2 separate regions of the Homo sapiens genome follow, and region 1 is linked to region 2. The links are contacts of gene promoters, found by promoter capture Hi-C in blood cells and fetal thymus (Javierre and others, 2016). All regions are on one chromosome and are shown on one strand. The core of a region is centred on a gene start or on the middle of the fragment in contact, and the rest is flanking DNA. Distances in the headings are between cores, read along the strand shown. Region 1 has its middle 120 kb from the start of TMEM170B. Region 2 holds the start of TBC1D7 (TBC1 domain family member 7).

Region 1 (4,784 bases), core at 1,463-3,962, 1.7 Mb after region 2:
CAACCCACAACCCACCCTGAGCTCCCTCCTCCTCTGCGTTCCCTGGTTAGGCTCTTCATGTCTGGCCTGAAGACACTGTTAACTTCTCTCAGTGGCCATCAGTTACCTTGGCAGAGGGACAGACTCACTTAATGCTCTATCCCTACCCCCACCCCTCACCTTTACACACTCATCTTCCACATCCCCAGACTTGTAACTAAAGTCAGACCCCAGCACTTACTAGGGGAGAAGGGAATTCAACCACCAAAAGACTTACAGGACTTAATTATATTGGCAAAGATGTGGGAATATGTGAGGAAAGGCATCCTGAAGGCTATTGGTCAAGAGGAAGGAACATCACTTTGATCAGGGTAAACGTGGGTGCACTGTGCACTCACCCACGATTCTGGATCTAGTGGTGTTAGCTGGGGCAGCTGAGAGTGGTTCTGATAGTTTACTTGCTGGCCCAAGAAGTCCAGGGCTCCATTGGAAGTACAGTCTAGGGAAAGTTGAGAAGCTAGAAACTGTAAGGTTCAATATAACAAAAGAACTCATAGGTGTCAAGAGAGGAATGTGGCTGTAGCCTTATAGGCAATCCCGTCATCAAAGCCTGGGATAGACACTGGTAAGGCAAACACCGGCATCTTTGAAAAGAGTGTAGAGGCTCTTCTCTGTGAGTTGGGAATAGTGGTGGAAGATGCTACCATCCAAAAGGACTGCTTGATACCAAGCATGTGGGAAGGGCCCGGGTGGAAAAGGACAAATAGGTACACTAGAATAGTAAGATAGAAATGGGTATAGTCATCTTACAAGACATTAGGGCTTACCAGAATGAACTGAACTGCAGGGATCTTAGGGTGTGGCCAGTTGATCGCAGGATTTCCGGCCTAACTTGGCGTGTAACTGAAAAAACTCCAGGTCTGGTGAATGGGGGCTGCTATTACATCAGAAACTTGGGGTCGTGTCTAAGACCGAGTCAGTTCCCAGACCCACATCCCCTCACTAAAGGGAAAATAGGGATGCTTAAGGCAGCACTTTCTGCTAAAATTGCCAAGTATGTTCTGTGACTTTTCCTCTCAGCCTTCCCCAGTGGTACTTGTGTCCATTTAAACAGGTTACTGTACTGGGGGAAAAATGCCCAAACTTTTCTCAAATATTTGGACACTGGCTCCAAGCCAACCATACCACAGACCACCTATCAAAGCAGGCGACTAGTAGAGATCTGGTAATTGATAGAGTTTTGGAGTGTGTGTGTGTGTGTGTGTGTGTGTGTGTGTTGACCTTTCTTCTCCCATTTGGCAGAGGAAAAGTATACCAAACACAGAGGAAAGTGGAGAACTCATGGTGAGCTTTTACTCCTGTAACTGCATCCATTCCTGCTTCGCTTACTGAGTTCCCTCCACACTTGCATCTCAAACGCTGAACTCAAACTTGTCATTCTCCCTCTCCTCCCATGGCCTTTGAATTTGCAATTCCCTGGCCTAAATCTTCCTCACCTCTTCCCATCCCTTTGCCTAATTACTTCCTCCTCATCCTTCAAATCTCAGCTCCAGGGTCCCTCGTTAGGGAACACTGCCTATTCCCATCACTCCACGAATCTAGGTCAACTTCATTAGCTCCACAACATCCAGGGACAGCAATCTTTGCCTTTAAAGCACCTCCCGCAGCTTGTTGATGCACATTCATGCGAGTGGCTTGACGAGTATCTGCTTCTTCCTCTAGACTAGAAGCAGCCCAAAGCTGGAACGTAGTTTTGGTTACCACTCTTCCCCTGGCTTCTAAATACGATGCCTGGCACAGTGAACACTCAATAAATATTCATCAAATGAATGGATGAATGAATAAATAAATGAATGCACACCTCTTTTACTTCAAAAAAAAAAACACTTCTTAAGAATTGAAATTTAGCAATAAATTGGCCAATGTTTTTCCTATCTTTAGCGTGCCAGCACTTTCTTCTGGAGACCATGAGCAGGGGCAGAAAGACATCATCCCCAGCAGCACTCACATCTGAAAGCAGGCGGGTGTCCCTCTGCAACAACCCCTGCTCAGTTAGATTGCTTTAGGATACCCTCTTTTCTAAACAGAACAAAATTTTAACCAGACCATAAAAGCTGGTTTGGGATCTGAAAGAATAAGATTGTGCAGCAAATGATAAAAGGAAAAACCCAGCCATGCCTCCCTGTTCTGCCTTTTGTTTGGGCATCCTGTGTCCTGCTAGGCCTAGAAGGGGGTTGATGGAACCGTTTGTTGGCTGAGAGACTGGATTTTAATTGTCCTGCAAAGCTCCAATAAAGCTTTGTTTCAAGTCTTGAATTTCATCCATGTTTCCCTTTTAACAAACTTCAAGGAAATAACTCACCCTGAACTGCCACAGTGTACTGCCAAAGCGCTAGCAAATAAGAAAGGCACATGCTTCCTGAATTTGGGTGAATGAACCGACAACACTCACTTTAAAGGGTTTTCTTTTTCTTTTTTTTTCCTTTTAACTAGGAGAGAGAATGCGGACCAGGCTTTCCCTCAGCAATTTTTCTAATGAAAACATTTGGTGCCACCTGGTGGCCAAATTTACACGGACGCCTCAGCCTTCGCAGAGTACAAATGTCTCCCGGTTGAACTGGATATTAAAAACCCTGGTGCTACTCGGGAGGCTGAGGCAGAGTGGCATGAACCCGGGAGGCGGAGCTTGCAGTGAGCCAAGATCACGCCACTGCACTCCAGCCTGGGTGACAAAGCGAGACTCCGTCTCAAAAAAAAAAAAAAAAAAAAAAAAAAAAAAAAAAAAACCCTAGTGCAACCAATTTGGTAAATTTCTAAGAATATAGAGAATTTAAATTTCTCCTTATTGAAGACAAAATTCCCCACCTGCGTTCCACCACGCCTCTTGGGGACAATTTGTTTTCCTGAACAGGTGGCTTTCTTTAAGTGAACATTTTCTCTAAGGTAATATGCTTCATGCAGAGTTCACTTTTGAGCTAAAAGAAGGGCAAGAAGTGCAAATAATTATTGTGGCATGAGAGAAGGAGAAGGAATTGCCCAGAAATCCTTTAGGCCCCTTCAGTGTCTACTGGCCTAGGATTCCAAAAAGGTTTGAGAATGTTTCTCATACTCATATTTGGCCCAAGCACACGGGTCCAGTGGGTCAACTTTCACTTTGAGAAAAGCTTCAAATTCCACATTCTTGGATAAAACATAAATAGAGCCCAGTTAGTCCCTCTCAGGCTTTTATGAACTAGAATCATATTTCTTAACCTATCATTCCTGAGTGTGAGAAAAACAAGAGGAATGATATGTAATGTCTTAACAAGCTGTGCTGGGATACCAATTTTAACTGGCCAATAGAACCAACGCAGATTATGTTTTAGAGAAATCTAATCCCTTATAAATCAGCTGTGTGTAAAAACCCTCACATAAACAAGTGATGTGTTGTGAGTAGCAAGGAGAAAAAAAAAATTCTCCTGGAAATGTGTAGGTCTATTAGCGGAGACAAGCGCTGCTCGCCTCGTGCTCCATACTCCGAAGGGCAATTCATGTTAAAGGCAGTAGTGGGCTGGCCCCCTTTATGCTGAACATAGGAAATACAGAAAAACATCTACGAGACTGAGCAAAGTGGTAGTATTTCGTGCACTGGCTGGCTCAGCACCAAAATTCAAATCAATACTCCAGAGAGAAGAGCCCCCAGAAACAGCCCAGCAAGAGCTTGGAGGGTTCAATGATCATTTAATTTAAGCCCCTCTTTTTACAGACAAATGAACACAGGCCCCCAAGAGTTTAGGTGATGTTCCCGTGGGCCCTTATCAAGTTAGAGCAGAGCCCAGGGAGAGAGAGAGTTGAGGTCCTCCGCTCTCTGCTTCTGCCTCCACACTCTGCTTGCTCTGACCAACGTCCTCCCACCGGCGATGCAGAACTTCAAAGGGATGGAAAAGGTGGCAAAGTCACCAGTGAATCTGTGTGATATACATAACTGATGACTTCCTCCTTTAAAAATTTTTTTGAGAGAGGGTCTTGTTCTGTTACCCAGGTTGGAGTGCAGTGACACAATCGTAACTTGAAATCCTGGGCTCAAGTGAGCCTTTTGCCTCAGCCTCCCGAGTAGCTGGGACTACAAGGAGCACACCTCCATGCCTGGCTAATTTGTTAAAATGTTTCTTTAGAGACGGTAGTCTCACTATTTTCCCCAGGATGGTCTTGAACCCCTGACCTCAGGTGATCCTCCCGCCTTGGCCTCTCAAAGTGGTGACTTCAGGTGTGAGCCACTGTGCCCAGCAGCTTCCTCCTTTACAGAAATAAATTAATGCAAAATAAAGGAGGAAGAGAGAAATGATAGCTAAGCAGAGAACATGCAACAAAGTCAATGCTAACATCCACGTGATTGAGCATCTACTGTATGGCAGGTGCTTCACATGCGTTATCTTGAATGGGTGAACATTCTCCAATACAGCAGGGTTCCATCCATTCCACAGGTGAGGCACCTCATGCTCAGGTGGGTAAATTGCCCACCACCGTGTGGTAATAAAAGGGCAGAACACACACATGAAATCAGGACACCCTGACTCCAAATCCTATCACTGTTTCATGTCTCCAGCTGCAGACAACTCTTATGTGAGCCCTGGATAGGAAAAGGAACAGAGTCATGGAAGGTCCACTTAAGTTCTCCTTCAAGCAGCTAAGGAGGTGCTGTCTCTAACAAGCCAAATTAAGATAGGCAAAGTCACCCCAGCAGCTGTTGACTTCAGCATTTGCTTTTAAAATGAGAATTATTGTCTCAGGGTGAAGACTCCGGTTCAAGCATGAGTCATGCACCC
Region 2 (5,055 bases), core at 1,021-3,520:
ATGGAGGGCAGTTGAAGGCACCCATATTGCTGTCACCATTCAGTGAACAGCAGTCTTGAAAATTGATTGTATGAATTGGAGTAATCTTCATACCCAGCTAAATTAGAGTCCAGAGATGAGGGAGAAGAGAAAGCAGTTGGGGCACAAAGTGCCTGCCCAGGAATTATATTGAAAGCCAGCTGCCAAGGTGACCTGCTATAACCTGAAGACCAGTTTCACCCAGTAGCTGCTGAAACGAATTGCTGTAACTCTAAGACTAGTTTTACTTACCACCTTCTCTCACAAATTAGAGCTTGCCTGTTCCTAAAAACTTTGCTTAGGGTCAATGAGCTATCTTTCAAGGTAATACATAACATTTCTCTAATGAAACCTCCAACCATCTCTTTGTTGTTCTGAAGACCACCCCAGTCTGTGTGTATGCCCTGAACTGCAATTCTGTTTTCCCAAATAAAATGATTTAGAGACTCATCTTTGCATTTTTAATTGATCTTGACACAGCCAATTCACATATATCCCTACTGTGCCACATGCCAGGCACCATGCCAAGCACTTTACATACTTTCTCATTTAACCCTTCCCACCTTCTATATAATCACCATTGGTGATGATTTTATTTTATTATTAATATTTTTTGAAATGGAATTTCTCTCGTTGCCCAGGCTGGAGTGCGGCGGCACCATCTCAGCTCACTGCAACCTCTGCCTTCCGGGTTCAAGCGATTCTCCTGCCTCAGCCTCCAGAGTAGCTGGGATTACAGGTGTGTGCCATCACACCCAGCTAATTTTGTATTTTTACTAGAGACAGGGTTTCACCATGTTGGCCAGGCTGGTCTCGAACTCCTGACCTCAGGTGATCCGCCTGCCTCGGCTTCCCAAAGTGTTGGGATCATAGGCATGAGCCACGGCGCCCAGCCAGCACCGATCACTTTTTAACACACTACATCATTGACTTATTTATTTTAGTTTTTATTGGATCTGTCCTCCCACCAGAATGTCAGTTTCACAAGGTTAGGGATCTTTGCTTCGGTAGCTGATGTATCCTGAGTCCATAGAACAGCGCCTGCACACAGTAAGTGCCCAGCCCTGGTGATGATTTTAAAGACAAGAAAAGGCAATTATAAAAGTTAGTGACCGGCCCAAGGTTTAGATGAAGTAAATGGAACTTGTGTAAGGTAACTTGAAGAACTCTGCTTACTCATGTGAACACTACCCAAGGAAGGTTTAGTACCCCAGTACTGAGGAACTAAAGATGGTGGTGGTAAGGGAGTGGGGAGGGGCATCAGTGTTTGAGTTCAACCACCACACGTTTCTTCATTTTTAAGTTCTGTCTAGCCATTATACACACATTTGTCTGCACTATAACTGGACTTCTGCACTGTTGATAGTCCTAAGTTTCCTTCAAAGCTTGGCATCCGTGTGGCTTATTTGGTAGAGATTTGAACTTTCAAAGGGACGATACCCATCATTGGGGATTTCTCTCAAACCCTGGCGGTTTAAAAACCTACTTGGGCACTGCTGCTCAGCCAGCCCGAGGACCAGGGAGGCAAGCACAGAAATAGAAAGCATTTGTAAGTGTTAGTAGCTACTTTAAAGAGTAACTCTGTTCTGTTAGACCTACTAATAACAAATTAGGAGCTTGCATTTAGCACATCTTTTTTTAAAAAAAAAACACGTTCATTTTTCTCCTATGTTATAGTGTTTTACCTGAGAGGCTGAATATACTAAGACAATGGCCAAATCTAATATAAAAATAGACCTCCAATCCACAACCTGCAGCAACCTGCCCAGAAAACCAGTCAGTTACCTACAATAACCAACCCAGGGAGCCTGCCTGCTCTAAATCAGACTTGCACTCCTCTGCCTGCCTTTTTTCTTCTCATTCGGATGGTCTTCATCTATTCCCACATACCTGGGGTGGGGAGGAAATTAGCAAAAGCAAAACCCGGGTCCTGCACGCAGGCAGCTTAAGTACGGCCCTAGGGCTCGGGTCTTCCCTAGGCAAGAACCTCGAGGGCCGGACACGGGAGTGCAACCCAGGCACGCGCCTTCGGATGGCCAGAGTAAATGGTCGCGAGATTTTGCGGGGTAGCAAGGGGCCGGGTGCCCACGGCGGGAGAAACTACACTACTCTGGAGGCGAGCCTAGCCCTTCATCCCGTCGGGTTTCACAAACGAAGCCAGAGCTTCCTGGAGTGAGGGTGGAGCTTCCTGCCCGCGCCCTCTGCGCATGCGCCCGCCCGGCGCCCGCCCGGCGACCTGGAGTTGATGTCACGTCCGGCGGCGGCGGCAGCGGCAGCGGCAGCGGCGCTGAGTTTTGTCTCCCGGGCCGTCTGGGCGCGCGCGGGTGTCCCAGGTACCCCGCCGCCTCCCTCCTTCCCGCAGGACTCGTCCCTCCTGGCCCTGGGCCCCAACGGTGCCCGCCTGCCCGGCGGTCGGTCAGCGCACAGGGCACGGCTTCCTCTGCTTCTCCCGGACCACTTAGTCTCAACCCGGGTGTGTTTGCACTACTAGAGGTGAAGCATCCATCATAGAGAGAATGGGACCTGGGGTCTTGGACCAGGGTGTTTTTACTTTTCCCATCAGGTGGACGCGCATGGGCAGGAGATATTATTTGCAGCATTTCCTCCTAGAGGACGCCTTTGTCATTGTAGTGCAATCTAAGAATGGGTGTCCTTAGACAACAGGGACCGACCAAATCGTCATGCAGCTGTTTGGATGCTTTAAAAAAATAAATCCCCACACTCATTACGCGTTTTATGCTGCTGACTTTTTTATTTTTAAGACATCTGCTCCCGAAAGCTCAGAGCCCTTTAGCATTTCATTTTCTAAACGAATCCTAATCTTTCCTGTGACTGAATCGGTTCAGAGGATATCTTTTCAATAAGGAAGGAAGCCCTCCCCTGCTCACTGGGGACGTCGCAGGGTTTTTAAACCTAAAGATTTACTCTTTTGTGCACAGACGCTGGAAGCATTTGGGTGAGGCAGTGCAGTGCTTTTTGGGAAATGCATCAGATCTTTTCTGTTCTTGAAACGCCAAATCTAACTTGGTCTTTTTTTGGATGAATTACCGCCAGTATTATGAAGGTTACTGTGAAGGAACTTGAGACCACTGAACTTTTTGAGTTCTTGCGGTAGATTTTAAATCGTTTTTCCGTCTTCAACTCTGACTTTGGGATCACTGTCAATTGGCTACATTCTTTACCCTCTTCTAGTTATAATTTAATGCGATTTATTTGTTGTGGGTTTTGAATTTCGATAGCTACACTTAATAGAATTGTGTTTAAAAGAAAGATAAGTGAGGAACTCGTGGCTTTTTACTTTTATATAACTTAATTTTTCATTTTACAAAATGCCCATTTAAAAAAAAGTAGCTAAGCAAAAGAAAGGAAATTAAAATCATCTAGAATCCTACTATCTAAAGATAACCATTGCTAACATTTTGGAATAGAGTGTTAAGTTTTAAAATACATGAAATTTGTAAAAAACAAAAAATGAAATCATAGTGTATACTGTTTGAGTATAATTTGCTTGACGTATCTTGCCTGGCTTCCATTTCACTTATTTTTTTTCTTTGCGCATTTATAATAGCTACAGAATGTTCTATTGTGCTAGGCACTCATAGGTATAGTGGGAAACCTAGTGCATAAACCTTGTGCCATCTATTTTATCAGCTCAGAGAACTTTTAACTTATATCTTGGTTTTTAGCCAAGATGCATAGGTGAGATAGTTGCAGAACTGAGTTAAAGGAAAAATTTAATATTGGGTCCTATGCAAGGGTACATCATATTGAAAAGGTGGAGAACATCATTGAAAATTATTCTAATTCTTGACTCTTTGTTTCTAGACTCACTTTTCCCCTTCGTCTTTCTCTCCCTTTCTGTCTTTCTGTGTCTCCTCCAAGAATGAAATATGACTGAGGACTCTCAGAGAAACTTTCGTTCAGTATATTATGAGAAAGTGGGGTTTCGTGGAGTTGAAGAAAAGAAATCATTAGAAATTCTCCTAAAAGATGACCGTCTGGGTGAGTACTTTTAAAAATTAATCTCATTGGTTCTCAATCACTCCACATGTTCTGAAGTAAATATTTTCTTAAAAGACATCCAGAAGCATTGGTTACTTGCTGTATTTTTTAGTGATGTGGTGAAGCAGAATGGTGTATTTTGAGAAAAGATTTTTCAAATTTATATTTCACTGAGCGTCAGAAGTTTTTGAAAGGTTTCTTAAGAAAGTCAGTAGTATTTTTTTCTTTTATTGAACCCATATGTTTTCATGTATTATCTAGGTAAATTTGCTTCTGGGTAAATTTGCGATAACTCTGGTCATGATTTTCTTTTTTTTTTTTTTTGAGACCAAGTCTGACTCTGTTGCCCAGGCTGTAGTGCAGTGGTGTGATCTTGGCTCACAGCAACCTACACTTCCTGGGTTCAAGTGATTCTCCTGCCTCAGCCTCCCAGGTAGCTGGAATTACAGGCATGTGCCACCATGCCTGGCTATTTTTTGTATTTTTAGTAGAGACAGGATTTCACCATGTTGGCCAGGCTGGTCTCAAATTCCTGACCTCAAGTGATCCACCCACCTCGGCCTCCCAAAGTGCTGGGATTACAGGCAGGAGTCACCATGCCCAGCCCATGATTTTCTTTTATGGAAATACTAAGAGTGCATTGTATATTGACATTTTAGTTTGAGCCAGTCTGAATAAGGTCTGTTGTTGACTAAAGTAAAATAAACTGAACCGTAGTTAAAGATAATACTTTATTTGCATAGAGTACTTTTAAAGTTTCTGAAACATTTCTCACCTTATCTTTGATCTTCAATTGTGCGGTCTTTGCTTTAGTATGTCTGGTATTCTCCTTTGATAAGTAGAGGAATTGAGGGTCAGGGAAGTCACTGTAATTTATTGGAAAATGTAGGGATTTGAAGGCAGACTGTACCACTTAATAGCTATGTTAGTTTGATCAAGTCATTTAACTGCTTTGAACTTCAGTTTCTGCATTTTTAGAACAAGAACTACCTAACAGGCTTGCAGTGTGAATTAAATAAACCCTGTGATTAATAA

The links. Contacts are between HindIII fragments. The CHiCAGO score rates a contact against its expected background, and 5 or more counts as called.
Region 1: a contact is called between a fragment that was not itself captured here and the fragment with the promoter of TBC1D7 in region 2, in 1 of 17 cell types (total CD8 T cells). The highest score is 7.0, in total CD8 T cells.

Annotation. Positions count from the first base shown.
Region 1 is chr6:11,653,507-11,658,290 of GRCh38, reverse strand. No RefSeq gene overlaps it. Among named protein-coding and RNA genes, the nearest start is that of TMEM170B, 120 kb to the right of the region's middle. RefSeq lists a silencer at 2,448-2,617. The HindIII fragment of the contact is 867 bases long and covers 2,279-3,145 here.
Region 2 is chr6:13,325,752-13,330,806 of GRCh38, reverse strand. It overlaps TBC1D7 (TBC1 domain family member 7), which reads left to right and starts at 2,270. Exons shown (of 8, transcript NM_016495.6): 1 at 2,270-2,511; 2 at 3,901-4,020. The coding sequence starts at 3,909. TBC1D7-LOC100130357 (TBC1D7-LOC100130357 readthrough) reads left to right here and starts at 2,270. Exons shown (of 9, transcript NM_001318809.2): 1 at 2,270-2,351; 2 at 3,901-4,020. The coding sequence starts at 3,909. LOC124901261 (a long non-coding RNA gene) reads right to left here and starts at 2,192. Exons shown (of 2, transcript XR_007059457.1): 1 at 1,909-2,192; 2 at 950-1,082. RefSeq lists an enhancer at 1,925-2,431 and a silencer at 2,065-2,454. The HindIII fragment of the contact is 4,199 bases long and covers 1,406-5,055 here.